Linked DNA regions of Homo sapiens: region 1 is linked to region 2. Evidence: promoter capture Hi-C in human tissues and cell types (Jung and others, 2019). All regions are on one chromosome and are shown on one strand. Each heading gives the region's core, a stretch centred on a gene start or on the middle of the fragment in contact. The rest is flanking DNA. Distances are from core to core; before and after follow the strand shown. Region 1 overlaps CTXND2 (cortexin domain containing 2). Region 2 holds the start of MCL1 (MCL1 apoptosis regulator, BCL2 family member).

Region 1 (7,582 bases), core at 414-2,913, 310 kb after region 2:
AGCTTGCAGTGAGCCGAGATCGCACCACTGCACTCCAGCCTGGGCGACACAGCAAGACTCTGTCTCAAAAAAAAAAAAAAAAGCAACTCCTAAAATAAATAATTCTATGAATGGCATCATTTTTCTTTCAGCTTTCCAAATTTAAGCCCAGGAGTTTTCTTTATCACTTCCTTCTTCTTCCCACTACATGTCCACTTAATTTCCAGGTCGTCACAAATTCTCTTTCACAATCTCACATCCATTCTTTCCTTTCTGTTACTCACTGTGTTATCCTAGCCCTTGTTTCCCCTTGTTGAGACTGCTAAAACTCCTCTTGTTGTTTTCACCCTATAGTGTGTGTTAGCTCCAATACTTTTTACGCACTCTTGCCAGTTATCTTCCTGAAGTATGGCTTTGATCATTTACCTGCCTGAATTCAACAAGTATGAACTGTTGTATGCACTATGTGCCAGACACCGATAGAGATTCATATTAATTCATTCATGTAGACGTATTAAATACATAAAATATGCCAGCCCTCCCCAGGCACTGAATCCATGCTATGAATGGGACAGACACCTAGAGCTTACATTCTAGTTAGAATCAATGGGATACACAGTAAGATATGGCCCCTGCTCCCAAAATGTTTATCTGCTCAAAACCTTCCATTGCTTCCCGATACCTGAAAGAACAAAATTCAAAGTCCTTGCCCTGACTTTCAAGGTTCAGTATGGTCCTGTCTTAAGCAACAGAAGTATAGTATCTAGATGAATAATCTTGAGTTTGCATGCATCTTGTATTCTGTATTGGGCACCACATTTTAAAAGGAATATAGACACACTAGAAAATCTTCAGTAGAAAAAGGGTAGAGTGGTAGACCACATCCTCTGAGAAACCAATCAAACGTACTTAATAGCTATTTTTAAATTACTGAAACTCTTGTGTATGGAAAAGATATGTGTTGCCTTAAACAGTCCTAAGTAAAAAGTGAAGCTGTACTAAGAAGACAGATTTGGCTCAAGGTAAAAAATTACTGCCTTCCAGAACCTTCTGAAATAGATAGACAGCCAGGAGACAGTCAGTGCCCAGCCCCTGTCACACAAGGAGCTCAAGCAGGGGCTTTACAGGAATGATTAGAAGGTGGTACAAGATGACCTTTAAAGTTTCCTTCCAATGTGAGATTTTATTTATTTATTTATTTATTTATTGAGATGGAATTTTGCTCTTGTTGCACAGGCTGGAGTGCAACGGTACGTTCTTGTCTCACTGCAACCTCTGCCTCCCGGGTTCAAGCGATTATCCTGCCTCAGCCTCCCAAGTGGCTGACATTACAGGCATGTGCCACCACGCCTGGCTAATTTTGTATTTTTAGTAGAGACGGGGTTTCTCCATGTTGGTTAGACTGGTCTTGAACTCCCAACCTCAGGTGATCCACCCGCCTCGGCACCCCAAAGTGCTGGGATTACAGACGAGAGCCACCGCGCCTGGCCCAATGTGAAATTTTATACCCTTCACTTTCATGCATTGTGAGTTCTGCAATATTAAATTAAGCATCATTTTCCAGAAAGCTTCAATGCTTCCTGTCTCCATCACTATTCCTTTATTTGGAGTGCTCTTTTCTTGTTCCAAATAGAGCTCAGCCATCACCTCTACAAAGACTTCTATAACTAATACCACTCCCAGCTGAGTTTATTAATCGATGAAGGTTGTACTGTTCATACCCTACACCCAAGAGAAGCAGCATGTTCCTTCTGACATTGGAGTTTCCACATTGACAAACATTTCCTACAGGAAATGGACGTTTGCCCTGTAGAAACTCATATTGATAGAAGAATATCAGGTTAATTCTTGCCTCATGTACGCTACACATTCCTGCCTATCTGATATTTCTTTTCTTTCTTTTTTTTTTTCTTTTTTTGTGAGACGGAGTCTCGCTCTGTCGCCCAGGCTGGAGTGCAGTGGCAGATCTCAGCTCACTACAACCTCCGCCTCTTGGGTTCACACCATTCTCCTGCCTCAGCCTCCCGAGTAGCTAGGACTACAGGCACCCGCCACCATGCCTGGCTAATTTTTCATATTTTTAGTAGAGACAGGGTTTCACTGTGTTAGCCAGGATGGTCTCCATCTCCTGACCTCGTGATCTGCCTGCCTCGGCCTCCCAAAGTGCTGGGATTACAGGCGTGAGCCACTGCACCCGGCCTTATCTGATATTTCTAACACAAACATCTAATGATGTAATTTTCATGTTTACAAGCTTTCCAATGGCTCCCCACTGATTACAAAGCTGAGTCCTGAGTGTTTAATCTGCAACACAAGGTCCCTTGTGAGCTGCCTTTGCTACCAATCCTATCTATTCAGTAAAATATATCTCAAAGTCTTACTGAACAATTGCTGTTTCTCAAACATACTATATTGTCCTCCCTTAAACCTTCATATCTTTACCTGGAATATCTTCTTTCCTTCTCCCCTTTCCCACTTTTAGCTGCCAGATAAACTCATTCTTAGCCCTCAATTCAATTCATGTGTTGGCCTCTTCAGTAAAATCTCCCTTGATTCTTCCCTTTGGGCTTCTTTCCCACTTTACCCAGCAAATTGCTTTGGAATTATTTGCTTTCAGGAAGTACAGATTTTTTTATTTTTCTCTTTAACTTTATAAGATTCAGACAGTTTACTTAGTATAAAATTATACTAGAAATTTGTGATAAGGAGAATAAATGAAAGGAAATCAAAGAAAGATGGAAGTCTCTTGAAATGCACTAATTGAGAGAAGGTGGAAAATTAATAAAATATTCAGGCTGAATAAGTCTAGTGAGATCTGCAAGTGCCAGGGTAAAACAAGATGTCCTTTTTGAGGAATGTAATGATGAATAATGAGAAAATATGTGCCTGAAGTCATAAAGATATGTCATATTTTCTTCTAAAGGTTTTCAAGTTTTCCTTTTACATATAACTAAATGCAATTTTTAAAATAAATATCCTATTTTCCAGTATCTTATTGAATAGTTCATGCTTTTCCTGTGACCAACAATACCCACTGTGTTATAATTCAAGTTTCTGTAAATGTGTGATTTGCCTCTGGGCTCTCTAGGGGTATCTATGCCCACATACCTACCCCGTTGTCATAAACCCTATAGCTTTATAATAAACCTTGATTGCTGATAAGGAAAATCTCTCTACCCTATTCTTTTTCTTCAGAATGTCTTATTCTTCTTCTTCTTTTTTTTTTTTTTTTTTTTATTGAGACAGGGCCTCGCTTTATCATCCAGCCTGGATTGCAGTGGTATGAAATGAACTCGGCTCACTGCAGCCTGAACCTCCCTGGCTTAAGAGATCCTCCCACCGCAGCCTCCCAAGTAGCTGGGACTACAGGTGCCCACCACCAGGCCCAGCTAATTTTTGTAGTTTTTGTAGAGATGGGGTTTTACCATGTTGCTCAGGCTGGTCTTGAACTCCTGACCTCAGGAGATCTGTCAGCCTCAACCTCCCAAAGTGCTAGGACTACGGGCATGAGCCACCATGCCTGGCTTCTATCTTCTCTATCCTTGAGCCTTTGAGTTCCTTCATACGTTTAAGAAAATTGATTTGTCAGTTTTCTCAAAAAATCCTGATGGGATTTTGGTGGAGTTGCATTGTATCCATAGATCAATCTGGGAAGAACTAACTACTATGCTGAATCCACAAACATAGTATATCCCTTCATTTACTTAAGTGTTCTTTAACGACTATCAGTAAAGTTTGGTAATTGTTTCCAAACTGGTCCTAGTCAACTTTTGTTAAACTTATTTTTAAATATCTTACGTATTTTTAATGCCATTGTAAATGATGCTTTTTTAAAAATTACATTTTCTTGTGTGTTGCTGGTATTTAGAAATATAATTGACTTATGTATCTTATCCAGCCACCTTGCTAAGCTCTAATTATCTCACATTTTTCTTTAGACTCATCTGCGGGCAATGACGTCTGTGAATAGTAAACTTTTGTTTTCTTCTTTTTCAATCCATTTTTTTTCATCTTATCTTACTGCACTGGCTAGGACTTCCAGAATTATGTTACATAAAAGTTAATATAGTGAACATTTTTGTCTGGTTCCTGATTTTAAAAGGAAAATCTTTCAACTGTTGCCCATTAAGTAGTAGGTTTGCTATAGTTTTTTTTGTTGTTGTTTGGACAGGCTGTCACTCTGTCACCCAGGCTGGAAGACAGTGATGCTATCATGGTTCACTATGGCCTTGATCTCCGGGCTTCAAGTGATCATCCCACTTCAGCCTCCTGAGTAGCTGGAAGTACAGACATGCACCATCTTGCCTGGCTAATTTTTAAATTTTTTTAGAGAGACGGGTCTCACTATGTTGCCCCGGCTGGTCTCAAACTCCTAGCCTCAAGCAATCCTGCTGCCTCAGCCTCCCAAAATGCTGGGATTACAGGTATGAGCCACCATACCCAGCCTATACATTTTTTATGGATACCCCCACTTATGCCTAGTGTTCCATTATTGGAACCCTAAGCATGTGGGGGTTATTTATGTCCTACTGCTCAAGGTCATCACCAAGGTCTGATTGCAAAAATTCAAAAAATTGCACCCTCAGGCATAAATGGGTTAAAGGAGCTCCTTTCTATCCCTATTTTGCTAAGAATATTAACATAGGTGTTTTATATTAGTATCTTTTTTTTCTTTTTTTTTAACCAGAGATGGGGGCGTCTCACTATGTTGCTCAGGCTGGTCTCGAACTCCTGGACTCAGGCAATCCTCCTGTCTTGGCTAGTATTAAGTTTTATCAAATGCTTTTTCTGTAATCATTGAGGTAATTTTTTCATTTAATCTATATATTAAATGTCACTTACAGGTTTTCTCATGTAAACTACCCTTGCATTTCTGGGAAAAACTCAGCTTGGTATTTGTGTCAATCAGGATTTATTTGCAGGGAATAGAAACTTTCTAGTTATTTAAAACAGAAGTAGGATTCTTAGTTACACATGACCGAAAAGCCCAACTCAAATGGGATTAAAGACTACAATGGAAAAATATGAATTTGCTAATTATAGGGCACAAGATTTTATAGATGTTCAATAAATCAAGCTTGTTAATTGTATTATTCAAATATTCTATATCTTCACTGATTTTTGCCTAGTCAACCTATTAATACTTGAGAAGAATGTGTGTTCTATCTACCATAATGGTGGTTTATATCTATTTCTCTCTAGAGTTCTATTGCTTTCTTATTTAAGACTGTTTTATTAGATGCATATAATGTATTTATTTATTTATTTTATTTAGCGGGTACAAGTGCAGATTTCTCACATGCATATATCAATGTGGTAAAGTCTGGACTTTCAGTGTACCCATGTAGGTACATATAATTTAGAATTGTTATATCTTCCTACTGAATTGAACCCTTGATCATTATTTATTAATCCTCTCTATCCTTAATAATGCTTTTTGTGGCCAGGCACAGTGGTTCATGCCTGTAATCCCAGCATTTTGGGAGACTGAGGCGGGTGGATCACCTGAGGTCAGGAGTTTGAGACCAGCCTGGCCAACATGGTGAAACCCCACCTCTACTAAAAATAAAAAATTAGCCGGATGTGGTGGCGCGTGCCTGTAGTCTCAGCTACTCAGGAGGCTGACACAGGAGAATTGCTTGAACCAGGAGGAGGTTGTAGTGAGCCGAGATCGCACCACTGCACCCCAGCCTGGGTGACACAGTGAGACTCCGTCCCCCTCAAAAAAACATATATATATACATATATATATATATGATGCTTTTTGTATTTAGTTCTATTTTGTCTGATATTAATATAGCTATAAAATTTTATAGATATAAAATTTTATTTTGGCTAGTCTTTACCAAATATGCCTTTTTCTATCCCTTTTATTTTCAGCCTTTCCATGTCTTTAAATTTTAGGTGAATTTTTAAAAAATAGACTATAGCTAGATTGGGGCCAAGACCAAAGAATGGATGTTTGTCATTTTTTGTCTGCCCAACATCCAACTACCCTTCCTGTTTGGGGAAATCTTTTTTTTCTTTTTTTTTCTTTTTTTAATTTTGTGTGACGAAGTCTCTTTCTGTTGCCCAGGCTGCAGTGCAGAGACGCGATCTCAGCTCACTGCAACCTCCACCTCTCAGGTTCAAGTGATCTTCCTACCTCAGCATCCCAATTATCTGGAATTATAGGTGCGCACCACTACGCCCAGCTAATTTTTGTATTTTCAGTAGAGATGGGCTTTCACTATGTTGACTAGGCTGGTCTTGAACTCCTGACCTCAAGTGATCCACCTGCCTCGACCTCCCAAAGTGTTGGGATGATTACAGGCGTGAGCCACTGCACCCGGCCATGAAGAAGTCTTTCTTCACATGAATCTGTCAGAAACAATTCCCACTGCGGAGGCCTAGAGAAATCAAATATTCCCTCTTCCACCCTCTGGCAGCCAAGGTGTTAGTGCATGACTCAGCCTTGACCAGTCAGATGCTCTAGCCAGAGACTAGACTATTGAGTGACACAAAGATGACACAATTTATAATTCAGCCATGCCAGAGGCAGCAGTATCCAATGACAGTAGCAGCAGTGCTCGGCAACAGCAGTGTCTGGTGGTGGCAATGTCTAATGCCAGCATTGCCCTAACCAGACTTTTCCTGTGCTCTCCCTGGCTATGGTTCCTGATGGCTGGCTTCTCTTGATTTCTGTCTGTTTATAAGACTAGTTCTCTTTCTGAGAGCTATCTGACCTCTTTACAATAAATATATTTTCTGTTTAACGGAGAATCCGTTCCTGTTGCTTGCAAACAAGAATGTGTTCTTTTTTCCTCTGGAAAGGAGCAGGAGAGATGATAGGTAGGGGGAATATGTGAGGTTTGAATTTGCTGGAGCCATTCTTGATACCGTAAGGGAAGCCAAACTGGGGATTAAATCAACATAGAAGAAAGGCAGGGTTAAGAAAAGCCATAGACACATAAAGGCAGAACCCTGATACTTTGAATCACTGGATTCAGCCATAGCTAAAGGTAGTCTCACTCTGGACTTTTTGGCCATATGAGTCAATAAATTCCATTTTATTTTTAAGTCTCATGTGAGTGGGCTTTTCTGTCACTCGCAACCAAAAGCATCCTACCTGATACCTTTCTGTTCTGCCTGTGAAAAGGAATCCCTCACTTAATTCTGCAAATAGGCTTTCAGCTGCTATTCTACTTCTCTTCTTTCTTTCCTAGTTGAACTTCTCATAAATGATTTAAAATCTTAGTGTCTTTATTTCCTCACTGTCCTTTGCTGCTTTATCCACTAAAACCTGGATTCCTTCTTTACTACTATAACACTATTTCCTTTTAGATCACCAGTAGTCTTCTCCTGTCTTAATTCAGTGCCAACACCATATCTCAAAGTCATTCATTCATTCAACAAAGTTTTACATACCCACTTTAGAAACATATAGGGCTACATTCATTCACTGAACAAATATTTATTGAACATCTAATATATCCCAGACTTTTAGGATAAACAAATTCTATATGATCCCTACTCTCATAAAGGATTACAATTTTATCAGCCAGTACAGACTAAAGTAATATAATAAATTATAGTGAATATTACTGAAAGATCTCCCTAGAAA
Region 2 (7,401 bases), core at 1,295-3,794:
AAGGAAATTAAGTCTTTCCACCCTACCATCTTCACTAAATCTAAAAGTCCTCCTCCATAGCTTCCCAAACAAAGTTTGTTTGTTGCTGAAACTGAACTTTGCTTCTTTCAGACAGTGACTCTTCAATCAATGGGGAGCACTCTTCCCATGTATTTATTCTTGTTAGCCATAATCCTCTTGCCACTTGCTTTTCTGGCTAGGTTGCTAGGGTGCAACTCTAGGAAGTTACAGCTTGGAGTCCAACTGCATAAACTGGTTTTGGTGGTGGTGGTGGTTGGTTAAAAGTCAACTATTGCACTTACAGTAAGGCTATCTTATTAGATATGCCAAACCAGCTCCTACTCCAGCAACACCTGCAAAAGCCAGCAGCACATTCCTGATGCCACCTTCTAGGTCCTCTACATGGAAGAACTCCACAAACCCATCCTAGAAAACAAAAAAGAAAAGCACATTTTCAAGTATGGGTTTCTGCTCTCTTACAACACTACTATCCAGAGAGAAGGTAAATTAAAATATCTAAGGTTTCCCCCTAAAGCAATAGTAAACCAATTATTATTCACCCCGGGGCAAAAAAAGAAAATAAGTTCTTCAGTTTCTTAAGCGGGGACCCATGATAATTAAACTTCATTTTACAGTACTATCTTGGTCTTATTAGGATTTATCCTAACAAAAGGACTTCCAGAGTTCCCATGAGGTAAAAGACGAAAACCCTTATTCTCAAATCTCCACCACCTAATATTTCAGTAACGCCTCAATTGCGCAGATCAGTTTTTCTCAACGTAGTTAAGTACATCCTGCATCAGATCTGGGTTTGTTTAAAACGCAGGCTCCACCCCATATCTTCTCCATTAAAACAGGCACCGCCTTAGGAATTATTTCAGCTATCCTCCCCTGGTGACTTATTTTTTCATGGTTTGAATCCACTGAAGAGTATTCAACTGAATTGGAACAAAAAATTGCCTAGAGAAAACCAAGATTTTTGATACAATTCAAGACCGCCATACCACTATCTCTAAGGATCCACTACTTAAATCAACATCAAATAAACAATGGTCCTTTAGTTAGAGCCTGCAAACAGCCGTGCGTCATAAAAACCTTTAGATATCCCCACCTCTCTAAAAAAAATCCTTCATTCTACTTCCACTCCAAGGCCCCTTTCATCCTTAAGGCAAACTTACCCAGCCTCTTTGTTTAACTAGCCAGTCCCGTTTTGTCCTTACGAGAACGTCTGTGATACTTTCTGCTAATGGTTCGATGCAGCTTTCTTGGTTTATGGTCTTCAAGTGTTTAGCCACAAAGGCACCAAAAGAAATGAGAGTCACAATCCTGCCCCAGTTTGTTACGCCGTCGCTGAAAACATGGATCATCACTCGAGACAACGATTTCACATCGTCTTCGTTTTTGATGTCCAGTTTCCGAAGCATGCCTGAGAAAGAAAAGCATGCAGGTCCTCACGGCCTCCTTTGTCTAAACCGGCGCAAGATTCGCCTGCCCACCCGCGGCGGGAAAATCGCTACTGGGATTTACAGAACTCAGGTTGACCCCACTTGAAATTGACATCCCACCCTTTCCGGTCTTTGAACAAGAGCTGCCATTTCCAAAAGAATCAAGATGGGCGGAAACAATGACTCATGGCCAGAATATTCTGGCTTCAGGAATAGGATGAGACACGTTTCAACACTGACTCGTTTCGGTTTCCAACCCACCCTTGGCGGGTGAGTCCGGGGAGAGATGGAAAAAAGGGAGTGAGGCCTTGGCGATTAATGAACCCCCTTACCTTGGAAGGCCGTCTCGTGGTTGCGCTGCACGCCATCCCCAACCCGTCGTAAGGTCTCCAGCGCCTTCCTGCTGGTGGCCCCAGACCTGCCCATTGGCTTTGTGTCCTTGGCGCCGGTGGCCTGCTCCCGAAGGTACCGAGAGATAATCTCCAGCGACTGCCGGTACAACTCGTCCTCCTCCTCCTCTGCTGGCGGCGGCGTCGAGGGTAGTGACCCGTCCGTACTGGTGTTATTACCAGATTCCCCGACCAACTCCAGCAGCGGCAGGACAGCCGGCCGCTTCCCGAGAGGCTCCGGCTCGTACCCGTCCAGCTCCTCTTCGGGCGACATGATGGCGTCAGCGGCCGGGGCTTCCATCTCCTCAAGCGGCGCCGCGCGGCGGGTGGGCGCGAAGAAAAGCAGCCTCGCGGGGGTCGCGGTGACGTCGGGGACCTCGGCGCCAATGGGCGGCGGCCGCGCGACCCTCCGGGAGTCTGGCGTGAGGGTGGACGGGGGGCTTGCGCCGGCGCTTCCGCCAATCACCGCGCCGGCCTCCCCTCCCCCTATCTCTCGCCGGGCCGAGGCCTCCTTCTCCGTAGCCAAAAGTCGCCCTCCCGGGCGGGTGGCGCCGCCGCTGCCGGCCCCCAAGCCGGCCCCCCCACAGTAGAGGTTGAGTCCGATTACCGCGTTTCTTTTGAGGCCAAACATTGCCAGTCGCCGCCGCCGCCTGGCTGAGAAAACTGGGGAAGACCCCGACTCCTTACTGGAAGGAAGCGGAAGTGAGAAGTGGCGAGCAGCTCCTTTATCACGGTTTTAGGGCGGCCAGTCCTACGGGGTGGCGCCAGCGAACTCTTTTTTTTTAAAAAAAGTATTCCCATAAAAGGGGAAAGGGGCGGCAGCTTCCGGAGGGTTGCGCACGGCACCTACCAGCTGCCCGGCCGGGCCGGGGCGGGGCCGGGGCCGGGGCCGGGGCCGGGGCCTGAGCCGGGGCCTGAGCGGGGCCTTCCGGTCTTCGGAGGCTCTGAGTGCCGGTTACGTAACGGCGGCTCCGAGCGCCTGGGGTCCTCCCAGAGCTCCTGGGCTCGAGCTCTTTCCATGAGCACCTCGGGCCTTCTCGTGGCTACCTCTGTGCTTCCCTGAGACCTGATTTGTGAGCCCTTTTTGCTGGTTTTCGCCAGAGGTTTTTTACCAAATCAAAATTTCAACCATTGACTAACACAGGGGTTGAAGGAAGAGGACGGGGAAGTTCAGTGATGGATGGGAACAACAGTCTTAGATGATAGGGATAATTAAGAGGGCATAGTTGGGGACTTGTGGTTATTTTGCACAGCTCTCTACTCTCAGTCCAATGTTTGGAAATGAGGATGCTCCACGTGCTACCCTAAAGAACCATTTATGTAAGTGGACTAAGCTAAAACTGCCACAGCTAAACTATTCCTGCCTCCCTGCTTGCTTCTCCCATCTCTGTTCCATAGTCTTTGGTGCTATTTACATATAGGCCTTAATCCATTAGAATCTCGTCTGAGAGTCTTGACACCATTTTTTGTTTGTTTTGAGACAGTCTAGCTCTGTTGCCCAGGCTGGAGTGCAGTGGGGCGATCTCGGCTCACTACAAGCTCCACTTCCCACGTTCAGACGATTCGGTACCTCAGCCTCCCGAGTAGCTGGGATTACAGGCGTGCGCCACCACATCTGGCTAGTTTTTGTATTTTTGGTAGAGATGGGGTTTTCACGATGTTGGCCAGGCTGGTCTCGAACTCATGGCCTCAAGTGACCTGCCTGTCTCGGCCTCCCAAAGTGCTGAGATTACAGCTGTGAGCCACCTCGCCCAGCTGATTATTGTATTTTTAGTAGAGATGTGTTTCATGCGCGTCTGTGTGAAGACACCACCAAACAGGCTTTGTGTGAGCAACATGGCTGTTTATTTCACCTGGGTGCAGGCGGGCTGAGTCCGAAAAGAGAGTCAGCAAAGGGTGATGGATTATCATTAGTTCTTACAGGTTTTGGGATAGGTGGTGAAGTTGAGAGCAATGTTTTGTGGGCAGGGGTGGATCTCACAAAGTACATTCTCAAGGGTGGGGAGAATTACAAAGAACCTTCTTAAGGGTGGGGGAGATTACAAAGTACATTGATCAGTTCGGGTGGGGCAGAAACAAATCACAATGGTGGAATGTCATCAGTTAAGGCTATTTTTACTTCTTTTGTGGATCTTCAGTTACTTCAGGCCATCTGGATGTATACGTGCAAGTCACAGGGGATGCGATGGCTTGGCTTGGGCTCAGAGGCCTGACAATGTGGTTTCACCATGTTGGCCAGGCTGGTCTCAAACTCCTGGCCTCAGGTGATCCACCTGCCTCAGCCTCTTAAAGTGCTGGGATTACAGGTGTGAGTCACTGCACCCAGCTGACACCATTTATTTTTGTACTGATAATAAGGCACATTTGACTCTAGAGGTTTGTAAAGCCCTTGAGAACAAGGATCTTCTTATATGCCATGTATGTTAGTTAACGTTAATTAAAGCAGCCTTTTTGTTAAAAGATCTGTAAAAATAATAGCTAAAATTCAAAAGCAAGGTGCTGAGAGACATAGGAAAGGTGAGCAAGCTCACTTTTTATTTATTTTTTTGAGATGAGGTCTTGCCCTGTCACCCAGGCTGGAGTGCAGTGGCACCATCAGTGCTCATTGCTGCCTCAACCTCCTGGGCTGAAGTGATCCTCCCACCACAGCCTCGCGAGTAGCGAGGAACACAGGTGCATGCCCCTATACTTGGCTAATTTTTTTATTTCTTGTAGAGATGGGGTATCACTATTTTGCCCAGGCCGGTCTTGAACTCCTGGACTCAGGTGATCCTCCTACCTTGGCCTCCCAAAGTGTTGGGATTACAGACCGGGCTCTGTGCCTCATGCCAATAATCCCAGCACTTTGGGAGGCTGAGGTGGGTGGATCGCTTGAGCCCAGGAGTTTGAGACCAGCCTGGGAAACATGGCGAAACCCTGTCTCTACTAAAAACACAAAAATTAGATGGGTGTGGTGGTGCGCATCTGTAATACCAGCTACTCTGGAGGCTGAGACAGGAGAACTGCTTGAACCCAAGAGACGGAGGTTGCGGTGAGCCAAGATAGTGCCACTGCACTCCAGCCTGGGCAACAGAGCAAGACTTGGTCTCAAAAAAAATAATAATAATAATGAGGCCTGGCGCAGTGGCTCACACCTGCAATCCCAGCACTTTGGGAGGCCAAGGCGGGCGAATCATCTGAGGTCAGGAGTTTGAGACCAGCCCAACCAACATGGAGAAACTCCATCTCTACTAAAAATACAAAATTAGCCGGGCCGTGGTGGCACGTGCCTGTAATCCCAGCTACTTGGAAGGCTGAGGCGGGAGAATCGCTTGAACCTGGGAGGCGGAGGTTGCGGTGAGCTGAGAGTGCGCCATTGCACTCCAGCCTGGACAACAAGAGCGAAACGCCATCTCAAAAATAAATAAATAAATAAAGTGTTGGAATTATAGGCGTGAGTCTCCCTCTTGGCCAAAAGTTCCTAATCCCCAAAATGTCACAGTTTAGTAAGGTGATACGGCGTCCATACCACCCATTTATGTTTTGGGCAGGACCTAGAACCATAGGGGTTTATAGTATGAGTGGCAAGGATAGAGCATTTTGTGGTTATAGTGAATAAGAAATAGTTTCTCTATTTAAGGAATGTCTAATCTTGTACAGCAACTAACCATAATGTGAGATGGAATGTATGCTCTACACAAGGCATTAACAACTTCATTTTGGAGTTAAGAGGTTGGGAAATTCACTTTGGGCTGAGAGAGCTAGAGGAAAGTGTTATGGAGGAGGTAGCTTTGCTCTCATGCTTTATAAAGTAAAATTTTATCAGGTGGTAAAGTGGAAAGAGATTGAGGAAATAGGAGGAGCAATGATTTTTCCTTGTACAGAGGCTAAAAAAGGAAATGCAAGTTTCACTTTAAAATAAATTGCATTTATTCATTATTTGTTATTATTATTTTTTGAGACGGGTATCACCATGTTGCTCAGGCTGGAGTGCAGTGGTGCAGTCTCGGCTCACTGCAACCTTGACCTCCTGAGCTAAAGTGATACTCCTACCTCAGCTTCCCAAGTAGCTGGGACAACAGGCCAGCACCACCATGCCTGGCTAATTTTTGTGTTTTTTTGTAGAGATGGGGTTTCACCATGTTGTCCAGGCCAATCTCGAACTCCTGGCCTCAAGCCATCTGCCCTCCTTGGCCTCCCAAAGTGCTAGGATTATAGGCATGAGCCATTGCAACTGGCCCTGTTTGTTAGGAAACAAGTCTTGGTCGGGCACGGTGGCTCACGCCTGTAATCCCAGCACTTTGGGAGGCTGAGGCGGGCAGATCACGAGGTCAGGAGATCAAGACCATCCTGGCCAACACGGTGAAACCCCGTCTCTACTAAAAAAAAAATACGAAAAATTAGCTGGGCATGGTGGCGGGTGCCTATAGTCCCAGCTACTCAGGAGGCTGAGGCAGGAGAATGGCATGAATCCGGGAGGCAGAGCTTTCAGTGAGCCGAGATCGTGCCACTGCACTCCAGCCTGGGCAACAGAACGAGACTCTGTCTCAAAAAAAAAAAAAGAAAGAAAGTAACAAAGTCTTGCTATGTTATCCAGGATGGTCTACAACTCCTGTCCTCAAGGGATCCTCCCACCTGAGCCTCTTGAATAGCTGGGATTATAAGCATGAGCCACCACACCCAGTTTCAAATACATTTTATTTTATTTTATTTTACTTATTTTTTTTTTGAGACGGAGTCTTGCTCTGTTGCCCAGGCTGGAGTGGAGTGGCACAATCTCGGCTCACCACAACCTCCACCTCCTGGGTTCAACCGTTTCTCCTGCCTCAGCCTCCCAAGTAGCTGGGACTACAGGTGCGCACCACCATGCCCGGCTAATTTTTGTATTTTTAGTAGAGACAGGGTTTCACTATGTTAGCCAGGCCGGTCTCAAACTCCTGACCTTGTGATCCACCTGCCTCAGCCTCCCAAAGTGCTGGGATTACAAATGTGAGCCGCTGCGCCCGGCCTTTTTTTTTTTTTTTTTTTTTTTTTTTTGAGATGGAGCCTTGCTCTGCCGCCCAGGTTGGAGTGCAATGGCGCGGTCTTGGCTCACTGCAACTTCCACCACCCAGGTTCAAGCAATTCGGCCTCAGCCTCCTGAATAGCTGGGACTACAGGCGCGTGCCATTACACCCAGCTAATTTTTGTATTTTTTTTTTTTTTTTGAGACAGAGTCTTGCTCTTTCACCCAGGCCGGACTGCCATGGCGCTATCTCGGCTCACTGCAAGCTCCGTCTCCCGGGTTCACGCCATTCTTCTGCCTCAGCCTCCCGAGTAGCTGGGACTACAGGCGCCTGGCTAATTTTTTGTATTTTTAGTAGAGACAGGGTTTCACCGTGTTAGCCAAGATGGTCTCGATCTCCTGACCTCGTGATCCGCCCACCTCGGCCTCCCAAAGTGCTGGGATTACAGGCGTGAGCCACCGCGCCCAGCCTATGCCCTACTACTGTGCCGACAGCACAGCATCTCCCATCACAACACCATAATCAATCATTTTTACATAATCATTTTCACATATAAGATCATAATTTGGCCAGGCGTGGTAG

The links. The method cuts DNA at HindIII sites, captures the fragments that hold promoters and counts their contacts. A contact is called where the count stands out against the background at its distance.
Region 1: a fragment that was not itself captured here is called in contact with the fragment with the promoter of MCL1 in region 2 in 2 of the 25 tissues and cell types used here (dorsolateral prefrontal cortex and hippocampus).

Annotation. Positions count from the first base shown.
Region 1 is chr1:150,889,334-150,896,915 of GRCh38, forward strand. All of the region lies in intron 1 of CTXND2 (cortexin domain containing 2), which reads left to right. It also overlaps a transcript of LOC107985204 not described here. Among named protein-coding and RNA genes, the nearest start is that of CTXND2, 6.0 kb to the left of the region's middle. RefSeq lists enhancers at 2,232-2,376, 3,111-3,255 and cis regulatory regions at 2,304, 3,183. The HindIII fragment of the contact is 3,962 bases long and covers 1-3,644 here.
Region 2 is chr1:150,577,066-150,584,466 of GRCh38, forward strand. MCL1 (MCL1 apoptosis regulator, BCL2 family member) reads right to left here and starts at 2,545. Exons shown (of 3, transcript NM_021960.5): 1 at 1,778-2,545; 2 at 1,179-1,426; 3 at 1-426. The coding sequence starts at 2,465. The coding sequence ends at 310. It overlaps LOC107985203 (a long non-coding RNA gene), which reads left to right and starts at 2,765. Exons shown (of 3, transcript NR_186818.1): 1 at 2,765-3,154. RefSeq lists enhancers at 803-2,002, 963-1,681, 1,682-2,399, 2,448-2,742 and silencers at 2,316-2,445, 2,516-2,855. The HindIII fragment of the contact is 14,201 bases long and covers 1-7,401 here.